Linked DNA regions of Homo sapiens: all the other regions are linked to region 3. Evidence: promoter capture Hi-C in 16 types of primary human blood cells and fetal thymus (Javierre and others, 2016). All regions are on one chromosome and are shown on one strand. The core of a region is centred on a gene start or on the middle of the fragment in contact, and the rest is flanking DNA. Distances in the headings are between cores, read along the strand shown. Region 1 overlaps CDH5 (cadherin 5). Region 2 has its middle 5.6 kb from the start of LINC00920. Region 3 holds the start of CMTM4 (CKLF like MARVEL transmembrane domain containing 4).

Evidence for each region. Contacts are between HindIII fragments. The CHiCAGO score rates a contact against its expected background, and 5 or more counts as called.
Region 1: a contact is called between a fragment that was not itself captured here and the fragment with the promoter of CMTM4 in region 3, in 5 of 17 cell types (total B cells, naive B cells, activated CD4 T cells and 2 more). The highest score is 9.1, in total B cells.
Region 2: a fragment that was not itself captured here is called in contact with the fragment with the promoter of CMTM4 in region 3 in 9 of 17 cell types (naive B cells, total B cells, activated CD4 T cells and 6 more); the score reaches 14.2 in naive B cells.

The regions. Positions count from the first base shown.
Region 1 is chr16:66,392,373-66,395,756 of GRCh38, forward strand. It overlaps CDH5 (cadherin 5), which reads left to right. Exons shown (of 12, transcript NM_001795.5): 7 at 1-11. Among named protein-coding and RNA genes, the nearest start is that of LINC00920, 14 kb to the right of the region's middle. The HindIII fragment of the contact is 9,921 bases long and covers 1-3,384 here.
Region 2 is chr16:66,412,516-66,415,681 of GRCh38, forward strand. No RefSeq gene overlaps it. Among named protein-coding and RNA genes, the nearest start is that of LINC00920, 5.6 kb to the left of the region's middle. The HindIII fragment of the contact is 2,051 bases long and covers 541-2,591 here.
Region 3 is chr16:66,695,290-66,698,519 of GRCh38, forward strand. It overlaps CMTM4 (CKLF like MARVEL transmembrane domain containing 4), which reads right to left and starts at 1,454. Exons shown (of 4, transcript NM_181521.3): 1 at 1,051-1,454. The coding sequence starts at 1,236. RefSeq lists an enhancer at 657-1,496 and silencers at 967-1,256, 1,347-1,686, 1,927-1,986, 2,017-2,096. The HindIII fragment of the contact is 10,204 bases long and covers 1-2,100 here.

The DNA of each region.
Region 1 (3,384 bases), core at 719-3,218, 300 kb before region 3:
CATAGCATTGGGTAAGGGGGCGTGTGTCGATGAGAATGATAAGGACAATCCGGCCTGGATGTTCCTATGCCTGCTGGTCTGAGGCCAGGACTCAGAGAGGGGAACTGGCTTCTCCTAGCACTTACAGGGAAAGTGACAGAGGCAAGACCAGAAGCCCAAGCTCTTGCACTTGGCAGCCTGGCATCTTGACCTGCCTGGACTCCCCCACCTAGCATGGTCCTGGGCATCCAGAGCTACTTGTCCTCTGTCCGGCCTTGAAGGCTTATTCTCTGCACCACAGCTCTCACCAGTCCTATGTGGTAAGATCTGACAGTCAAGAAAGCAACCAATCAGACGACACACCAGAGGCCCCTTCACTAAAACTGTATTCTTGAATCTATCTTCCCCAAACCACAAAAGTAAGAAGTGTTCATTTTATACAGTGAAACAACACAGAGATCTACCAAGAAAACACTGATAACCCCCACTCTCAGATAACTCATGTTCGTGGCCTAACCTGGTCCTATTGCTCCTTTCTTTTCGTGACCACACAAACATGTGGATGCATTTATGGTGGGTTTGTTGTTGTCTGTTTGCTTTTGATGTTTGATTGTTTTAAAATTTTTTTGGATCATGCCATGCTGGTTTCATCGATATTTGCTCTTCTATCTTAACTAAATTTCTCTTTTACAATCTTTAGAAAAAAATGATATAGTTCCAACAGATACTTTTTAGAGCCATATAATATGCAATAGTAAGTATAAATTCAATTCAATCTTATTTTATTGTAGATGCATAGCTGATTTTGCCAGCACCATTTACTAAATATTATAATAATAAGTCATCGTTTTCCCACCTTCATTATATACTAAGTTTTCTGTATATACCTGTATCTACTTCTAATTCTCTGTCCTATCCATCATTCTATAGCAAAGCTATTCTGTTTTATTCTACTAGCTTGTATAAGTCCATTCTCCTATAAAGAAATAGTTAAGACTGGGTAATTTATAAAGAAAAGAGGTTTAACAGGAAGTATAGTGGCTTCTCCTTCTGGGGAGGCCTCAGAAAACTTACAGTCCTGGGGAAGCAGGCACGTCTTACACGGCCAGAACAGGAGTGGGAAGGGAGTTGTTACACACTTTTCAACAACCTGGTCTCATGATAACTCACTAGCTTGAGAACAGAACCTAGGGGATGGAGCTAACCCATTCATGAGAACTCTGTCCCATGGTCTATCCACCTCCCACCAGGGCCCACCTCCAACACTGGGGATTACATTTCAACATGAGATTCGGTGGGGACACAGATCCAAACCATATAGCTTTACACTAGATCTTAGATATACATAAAAGTCCTTCCCATGTTGCTTTTTTATTTGATATAATTTTTTGTCAACTCTCATTTTTTCTTTTGTGAAATTTAAAATTTTGTATCCAGGTTTTTTAAACATTAGAATTCTAGTGTTTATATATTAATTTTGGTATAGCTAATGTTTCAAGGGTATTAAGTCTTCTTATTAAGGACAAAATATGTTCTTCCATTTTGGCCTCATATCCTAAGTTTTGGGACTACTCTTCATTGCCATTCTTTTCTAAATAGCCTGTAATTATAATTTTTGTTTCTCCTTTGATCCAAGGGTTTATTTAAGAGATTGACTTGATTTCTTTATTTTCATTTATAAGTCATAGGGTGTTTTTTTTGTTTTGCTTTAGCTTGTTCTGTGATGTGATACAATTGTATTTGTGTCCACTTCTTCCTAGAATATCTAAGTTTTGACTTTATGTATTTAAATTTTTCTATTCAGTTAACAAAGGTTTGCAACTATTTTACCTTCATTATGGTTTGTAACTTTCATCCAAATGTAATTAGCCAATTTGTTCTGCTTAAATATTTTGCCTTTAATTCTGTTTCCTGATGTTACATTTGTTAGTCCTGTTTTCATGTTATTCATATACGCCTAATGCAAATTTTACAACCTTTACTTTTAATTTTTCCAGGTCATTTGGCATTAAGTTGTCTCTTGAAAACAAGAATGCATTTGGCTTTGCTTTTTAATCTAAACTGAAATGCTTTGTGTTTAACCTATTTACATTTTTCATCATAATTGATATGTTTGATGTTCCTTCTTTTATCTTGTTTTACATTTCTCATTTATCAAATTTAATGGCTTTTTTCTTTTTCCTCATCTTTGCTATACAGTCTATGTTTCTTTATTTTTTTTTTCTCCTAGATATTTGGATGAGGTGCATCCATTTTTATTTCTACCAGTGAGATTTACTTCTATCTGCAAAATTTAAAATGTTTTCTTGGACCTATATTTTCTAGTTAAAACTATTATAGACATACACACACCCATTGCTTTTCTATGTATGATAAAAAAAATCAATAGTTTTGTTTTAATTCTTCCCATGCCAGGTTTTTACTTTATATTGAGATGTTTAGTTAGATACAGTAAGTTTTCAAAAAAAAATTCAGGACACAAATATCTTAGTTCTTTGCCTTTTTTGGGGGGTGGGGGGGACAGGTTCTTCCTCTGTCACCCAGGCTAGAGTGCAGTGGCACAACCATAGCTCACTACAGCCTTGAACATCTAGGCTGAAGCAACCCTCCCACCTCAGCCTCTGAGTATCTGGGACTACAGGCACACACCACCACACCAGGCTAATCTTTTTTTTTTTTTTTTTTTTTTTTTTTTTTTTTTTTTTTTTTTTTGGTGAGACAGGGTCTCACTCTGTCACCTGGGCTGGGCTGGTCTTGAACTCCTGGCCTCAAGCAAACCTCCAGCTTCAGCCTCTCCCAAAGCACTCAAATTACAGATGTGAGCCACCATGCCCAACCTTGCCTTCTAATAACACCTAGATGTATTCGTATAATCCTCAGATTATAAACACTTCCCTTCAAAAATACTATCAATGTATTCTAGTATTTAATTTTGTGGGGGCATCTGAGGCAAATCTGATTTTTCTTTCCTCATAAGGAAATTATTTCTTTCTGTCTGGACTCTTTTCAGTTTCTTCACACAGCCTTGAAATTCGTAAGTGTCGTCAGGATTTGCCTAAGTATTGGGGTTTTTTTCAATGATGCCTGATGTCAATGACATCTTATAATGTGTAGACTCAAGCCTTTCTTCAGATCAGGAAACTTTTCTTTTCTTTTTTTTTTTTTTTTTTTTTGTTATTTCTTCTGTTCTGTTTGTTCTGGGATTTTCCTCATTAATAGCAACTATTATTCCTATATACACAAAACATATATATTTATCTTTCCATAGATTTTTCCTGATTTCTGAAAGAACTTTTTAAGTTTTTTATTTCACAAAGTTAATTTCTTTGTAATTACTTCTTATCTCTTCCAGCTCTTTTTGTATTCCTTCCTGGCTCTTGCCCAATGATCTTTTCATTAATCACT
Region 2 (3,166 bases), core at 316-2,815, 280 kb before region 3:
AACTGCAGAGCCACTGGAGCACTCATACATTGCTAATGGGAATGCAAAATGGTAAAACCACTTTACAAAACAGTTTGGGAGTTTCTTATAAAGTTATAACACCAAAACCAGAAACAACAAAATGTCCCTCAACTGGTGAGGGGTGCTATGGTCTGAATGTTTCTGTCCTTCCAAAATTTGTAAGTTGAAACCTAATCCCCAATGCATGGGTATTTGGAAGTGGGGACTTTAGGGTGGGATTAAATTATGAAGTCAGACCGCTCATGAACGGGGTCAGTGCCTGATATGGTTAGAATATGTAACTCTTCCAAATCTCATGTTGAAATATAGTCTCCAGTGCTGGAAGTGGGGCCTGGTGTGAGGTGTTTGGTCATGGAGGTGGATCCCTCATTAATGGCTTGGCACATCCCCTTGGTGATAAGTGAGCTCTCACTCTGAGTTCATGTGAGATCTGGTTGTTTAAAAGTATGTGGCATTCCCCCACACACAATTTTGCCATGTGATGTGCCTTCTCCTGCTTTATCTTCCACCATGAGTAAAAGCTTCCTGAGGTCTCCCCAGAAGTCGAGGAGATGCCAGCACCATGCTTCCTGTACAGTCTGCAGAATTATGAGCCAATAAAACCTCTTTTCTTTATAAATCACTCAATCTCAAGTATTTCTTTATAGCAATGCAACAATGGACAAAGGCCGAGCACCGTGGCTCACGCCTGTAATCCCAGCAGTTTGGGAGGTGGGTGGATCACTTGAGGCCAGGAGTTCGAGACCAGCCTGGCCAACATGGTGAGACCCTATCTCTACTAAAATACAAAACTTAGCAGGCATGGTGGTGCACGCCTGTAATCCCAGCTACTCGGTAGGCTGAGGTAGGAGAATTGCTTGAACCCAGGAAGCAGAGGTTGCAGTGAGCTGAGATCACACCACTGCACTCTAGCCTGGGTGGCAGAGTGAGACTCCGCCTCAGAAAAAAAAAAAAGAATGGACTAACACAGTGTCCTGACAAAAGAGGCCCCAGAAGATCCCCATCCACCATGTCAGATATAGCTAGAAGGTGCTGTCTATGAACCAATAAGTGGACCCTCACCAGACACTCAATCTACCAAATCTGCTGATGCCTTTATCTTAGATTTGCCAGCCCCTGGAACTGAGATAAATACATTTCTGTTGTTTACAAACCACACAGTTTATGATATTTTGTTATATAGCCCAAATGGACTAAGACAAGTGAATAAACCAGCTCTGGCACGGCCATAAAATGAAACATTATCGAGCAGTAAAAAGGAAAGAAACATTGATACGTGCAACAACTTGGGTGAATCTCAAGTGCATTACGCCATTTGAAAGAAGTTAGACTCAAAAGACTACATACTGTGTGATCCCATTTATACAATATTCTGCAAAGGCAAAACTGTAGCAACAGAGAACATATCAGGGTTTCCAAGAGTTGGGGAGAAGGGAGGATTGGACTAACAAAGAGAAGCTGCATTAGAGAGACTTTTAGGGTGATGGAACTGTTGAATATCTTAATTGTGGTAGTGGTTACACAAGTCCATGCATTTGTCAAAATCATAAAACTGTACTCCAAAAAAAAAATTACCATATGTAAATTAAAAGTAAACTTTTGAAAGTCATCAACAAAATTTGAAAATAATGAAAAAAATTTGATCAGGGTCTGTCTCATTTTATAAGGGATCAATTTATTGGTCACTTTATTGATGTACAAGGTTCAGGGGCACTCTGTTACTTATTCATTTATTCTTTTTTTTTTTTTTTTTTTTGAGACAGAGTCTCACTCCATCACCCAGGCTGGAGTGCAGTAGCGTGATCTTGGCTCATTGCAGCCTCTACCTCCCAGGTTCAAGGGATTCTTGCGCCTCAGCCTCCTGAGTAGCTGGAATTACAGGCATGCACCACCATGACTGGCTAATTTTTATATTTTTAATAGAGACGGGGTTTCACCATGTTTGGCCAGGCTAGTCTCGAACTCCTGGCCTCAAGTGATCCACCTGCCTTGGTCTCCCAAAGTGCTGGGATTACAGGCATGAGCCACCACACCTGGTCTCATTCATTCTTTGTTTCTAAAATACCTGTTGAACAATGCACTAATGAAATTCCCTTGATTCTGTTCCTAACAGCTCTAGAAGCCCTCTCCGTCTCTACTGTTCCAACCTTAGTTTGAACATTCACTCTGCTATGGTATTCCCACAACTTTTCAGTTGGTTTTCTTATTTCTAGCCTCAATCCCCCCACCCCCAGGCCTTTTCCTGAAGCTACTGAAATGATTTTTCTAAAGCATAAATAAGATCTTACTCTCCCTTGCTCAAAACTCAACAGAACTTTTCATATCTTCAGTGGCTCTCCATTGACAATCAATGGAACCCAAACTCTTTAGCCTGGTACCCAAGGCCCTACATGATATAGCTTCTCCTTGACTTCTTAATCTCTTTATTTTTGTAGCCACCCTCATGCCATACATTCTAGTCAGACTGAGTTATTAGCCTTTACTCAGACATATGGTAGAGTGTGTTATTGGTCAAAATATTCACTGCCCTTCTCTGTGGGAGGATTGGTATCCCTGATGCACTGACGTCAAGCTTGGCCATGTGACTCATCCTGTCAAATAAAATGTAAGTGGAAGAGACTTATGCCACCCCAGAGCAGAAACTTTAAGAACCAATGTATGGTTCTACTATCTCTCTTCTCTCTGCCACCAGCAATGAACATATAACATGAGCTAAAAATAAACCTTCATTGTCATAAGCTACCAATATTTGGGGTTTGTTTGTCACCACAACATAACTTAGCCTAAGCTGACTGAAACACTCTTAGGTTGAGAGCGCCCCAATTATTCACTTTGTAGTCTCTGTGCATAGTATAGACACTTAACTGCATAACTGGCATTCACTACCTACTTGTTGAATAAATGAATACAATGAGTGAGTGAATAAACAAGTGACCAATGAATGAACAAGTGATCTGGGCCTTTACACATGCTATTCTCCCTGTAAAGAGTGGCCATCCCTGCTTCTTCACTTGCCCAACTCTTTCTCAAGTCAAACCTCGAAGATCTCCTCTAAGAAGACTTCCCTGCCCATCTGTCTTAGGCCTTTTGTGCTGCTATAACAAAACATAGACTGGGTAACTTATAAACAACAGAAATGTATTCC
Region 3 (3,230 bases), core at 204-2,703:
TGAGCCACGATCGCACCAGTGCACTCCACCCTGGGCGACAGAGACCCGGTCTCAAAAAAGAGAGAGAGAGAGAACAAGAACAAGTGGCTTCTCTGGCTATGAGAAGTCTATAAAGTTTTGAGGCCGGTGGCCTCAGAAGGCCTACCTGTGACAGAGAATGTTGGGGGGACACACGGGTTTTTCTGAATTAGAGCATGCCCACAACAGAGCTAAGCAATTGCCCGCAGAGGCATGTTACAAAACCACAAAGCAGGAACAGAGCTGAGAGGCCCCTGCCCAGAACACCCTGGAAGCTAAAACACAGGACCCTGAGAAATGAGCTCTACTACAGACAAGTCCAACAGAAAGTTCTCTGTTTCTGCTACCTCCAAAACTGGCTGCCCTCCCAGATTTAACTCTGGGTACCAATTGGGCAGTGCCAGCCACCGTGCTGGGCGGTGGATTCCGGGATGCCAAGTCTGTCTTCTTGGTTAGAAGGACACAAACCTCTGCAGTGTAGAGAATTGTGGGCATATCTGGGCTCCTCCACTGCATCAGGGCTACCTGCCTCCATCCAGCAAATACTTACTAAGCGCCTACCATATACGCCTGGCACCCAGCTAGACATCAAGTGGGAACCAAACCACAGTCCCTCGTCTCCGCAGGCAGAAACAGGCACCGTCCGGAGGTTGCGCGGGCCGGGAAAACCTGCCACAGGTTGCTAAGACCAGCTGTACCCAGGAGACAGCAGGATTCCCAGCAGCACCCAGCCCAGTAACGCCACAGACTCCCGGGAGCGAGGGCGGAGCGGACAGGTAGGCCCGAAGGCAGGTGCTCAGGTAGGAGGCGCACACCTGAGGCTGCCGGCCTGGGAAGGGCAGGCTCTGGCCGAAGGCGGGGTCCCCAGAGAAGGCTGCAGAGTGGTCCCGGGACCCCACGAGGGAGAGGGGGCGCGAGGAGCGGGCTCCGGCCTGGGCAAGCGGGTACGCGGCGGAGGCCCCGCAGCGGGGCGGGGAGGGAGGCGTGCGGCTAGGCCGCCCTCGGGCACCTGGGGCCCCGCCCGGCACCTACCACTTGGGCGACCTTGAGGCGGCCGAGCGCGCCGCGCAGGTAGTCGGGGTCGCAGCGCAGGCCGGCCAGCCCGCGGCGCTGGCTCACCGGCTCGGTGGTGGGCTGGTACGGGCTGCTGGCGCCCGAGATCATGGAGGTGCTCGAGGCCTCGCCCTCGAAGCCGTCCAGCTCCTCGCCGCTCCGCATGCTGCCGCCCGGCCCGGGCCGCCTCGCGCGGCTGGCTCCCGGCGCCAGGAGCGGGCGGACTCAGCGGGGCCGCCGCATCGCCGCCGCCGCCGCCGCCGCCGCCGCCCGACTGACTGCCCGCGGCCCGCCCGCCGCCGCCGCCTCTCGCCCGCCGCCCGGCTGCGGCTGCGGCTCGGTCCGCTCGGGCTCGGCTCCCGCCGCCTCGGCAGCGGAAAGGGAGGGAGGTGGGAGCCAGGAGAGGGAAGGAGGCGGGAGCGGGCGCGCCGGGCCGGGAGAGGCGGAGCCAGGCCGCAGCCGGCCGCTCGGAGGCGCTCCGCGGCTCGAGCGAGGTGGAGGCGGCGGCGCCGCGGGCCTCGGGGAGGGGCGGGGCGAGGCGGGGCGCCGGCTCCTCAGGCCCCGCCCTGGCCCCGCCCCCACCTGCGCCTAGAGCCGGGGCGGGAGCCGCTGGTGGGCGCTGGCGATCCCGGCACGCGGGGCGATGGGGTTCAGGCAGCGGGGTCTTGGGGCTGAGGAAAGGGTCGAGGTGGACCTGGAGGCCATGGAGTTGCTTTCCCAGACGCTGCCTCAGGTTCTCCTTTGAAGAAAGTGGGGTCCTCGACGCATAGGGTGGGGAGCTTCTCGGTAAAGACAGAGACGGGCTGCGCCACCCGGGTGCCGGGAACGGTGCGTGGCCAGGGTGGGCTTGACTCAGACTATTGGGCCGACGAGAGGTGGGTAAGTGCCTGTGTTCTCACGCTGGGCGCCTGGAACAAACCGGTTCCGAGGCCAGGGGCGGGCGGGGCAGGGTGAGGAGCCGCCCCACTGCAGGTTGTCCCCGCCGGCCTGACCCAGGCGACTGACATGTTCCTCTCCTCTCAGCTGAAAAGCTTTGCTAGCTCTGTCTACGCATAAAGTAAGGTTAAACACAGATTTTGCCCCGAAGGGCATTAATTAGGGACCAATTTACAATTCAAGTGTGAAGGCTAATTTTAAGCTAAGTAAAACACTGACTAAGAAGTGTCGCTTTGATATTGAACCCTTCCACAACCACAAATACCGAGAGCTTGCCATGTTCTAGGCACTGAGCAAGGCGCTTGAAGAACGTATCGTTGTTATTTCTATTTTACAGAAGAAGAGACTAAGGCTGCAGACTGGAAGTAGCTTGTCCAAGGTCACACAGTTCATTGGTGGGCAGAGCCCAGGTTCCTACTTTTTCTTTTTTTAAAAAAAAGTTATTTATTATTTTCATCATCATTATTTTTGTAGAGATAGGGCCTCACTGTGTTGCCCAGGCTGATCTCGAACTCCCGGGCTCAGGGGATCCTCCTGCCTCAGCCTCCCAAATTGCTGGGATTACAGGTGTGACTGACCATGCCCAGCCCTCAACTTTTTCAAAGATAGGAAGGACAGTGACTCTAATACTGTTGTCCTTCTGTATGGGGGCAAGAGAGGGAGCTTGTTTTCAGGACCCCCTCAAATACCAAAATCTGAAGATGCTCTCAAATCCTTTATATAAAATGGTGTAGTATTTACATATAACCTACACACATCTTCTCGTATACTTTAAATAATTGTTCTACTGTATTACTTTTTATCTATATTTTTGTGTGTGCGTGTGTGTGTTGTTTGGGGGTTTTTTGTGTGTGTGTTTTCTGAGACAGAGTCTTGCTCATCACCCAGGCTGGAGCGCTGTGGTGAGATCTCTGCTTACAGCAACCTCCACCTCAAGCGATTCTCCCACCTCAGCCTCCCGAGCAGCTGGGACCACCACGCCCAGCTAATTTTGGCATTTTTAGTAGAGACAGGGTTTCACCATGTTGGCCAGGCAGATCTCAAACTACTGGCCTCAAGTGATCTACCCACCTCAGCCTCCCAAAGGGCTGGGATTACAGATGTGAGCCACCGTGCCCCACCTGTTTTTCTGTTTTGTTTTGTTTTGTTTGTTTTTAAAATAGACTTTTCACTCTGTCATCCAGGCTGGAGTACAGTGGTACAATCATAGCTCACTGTAACCT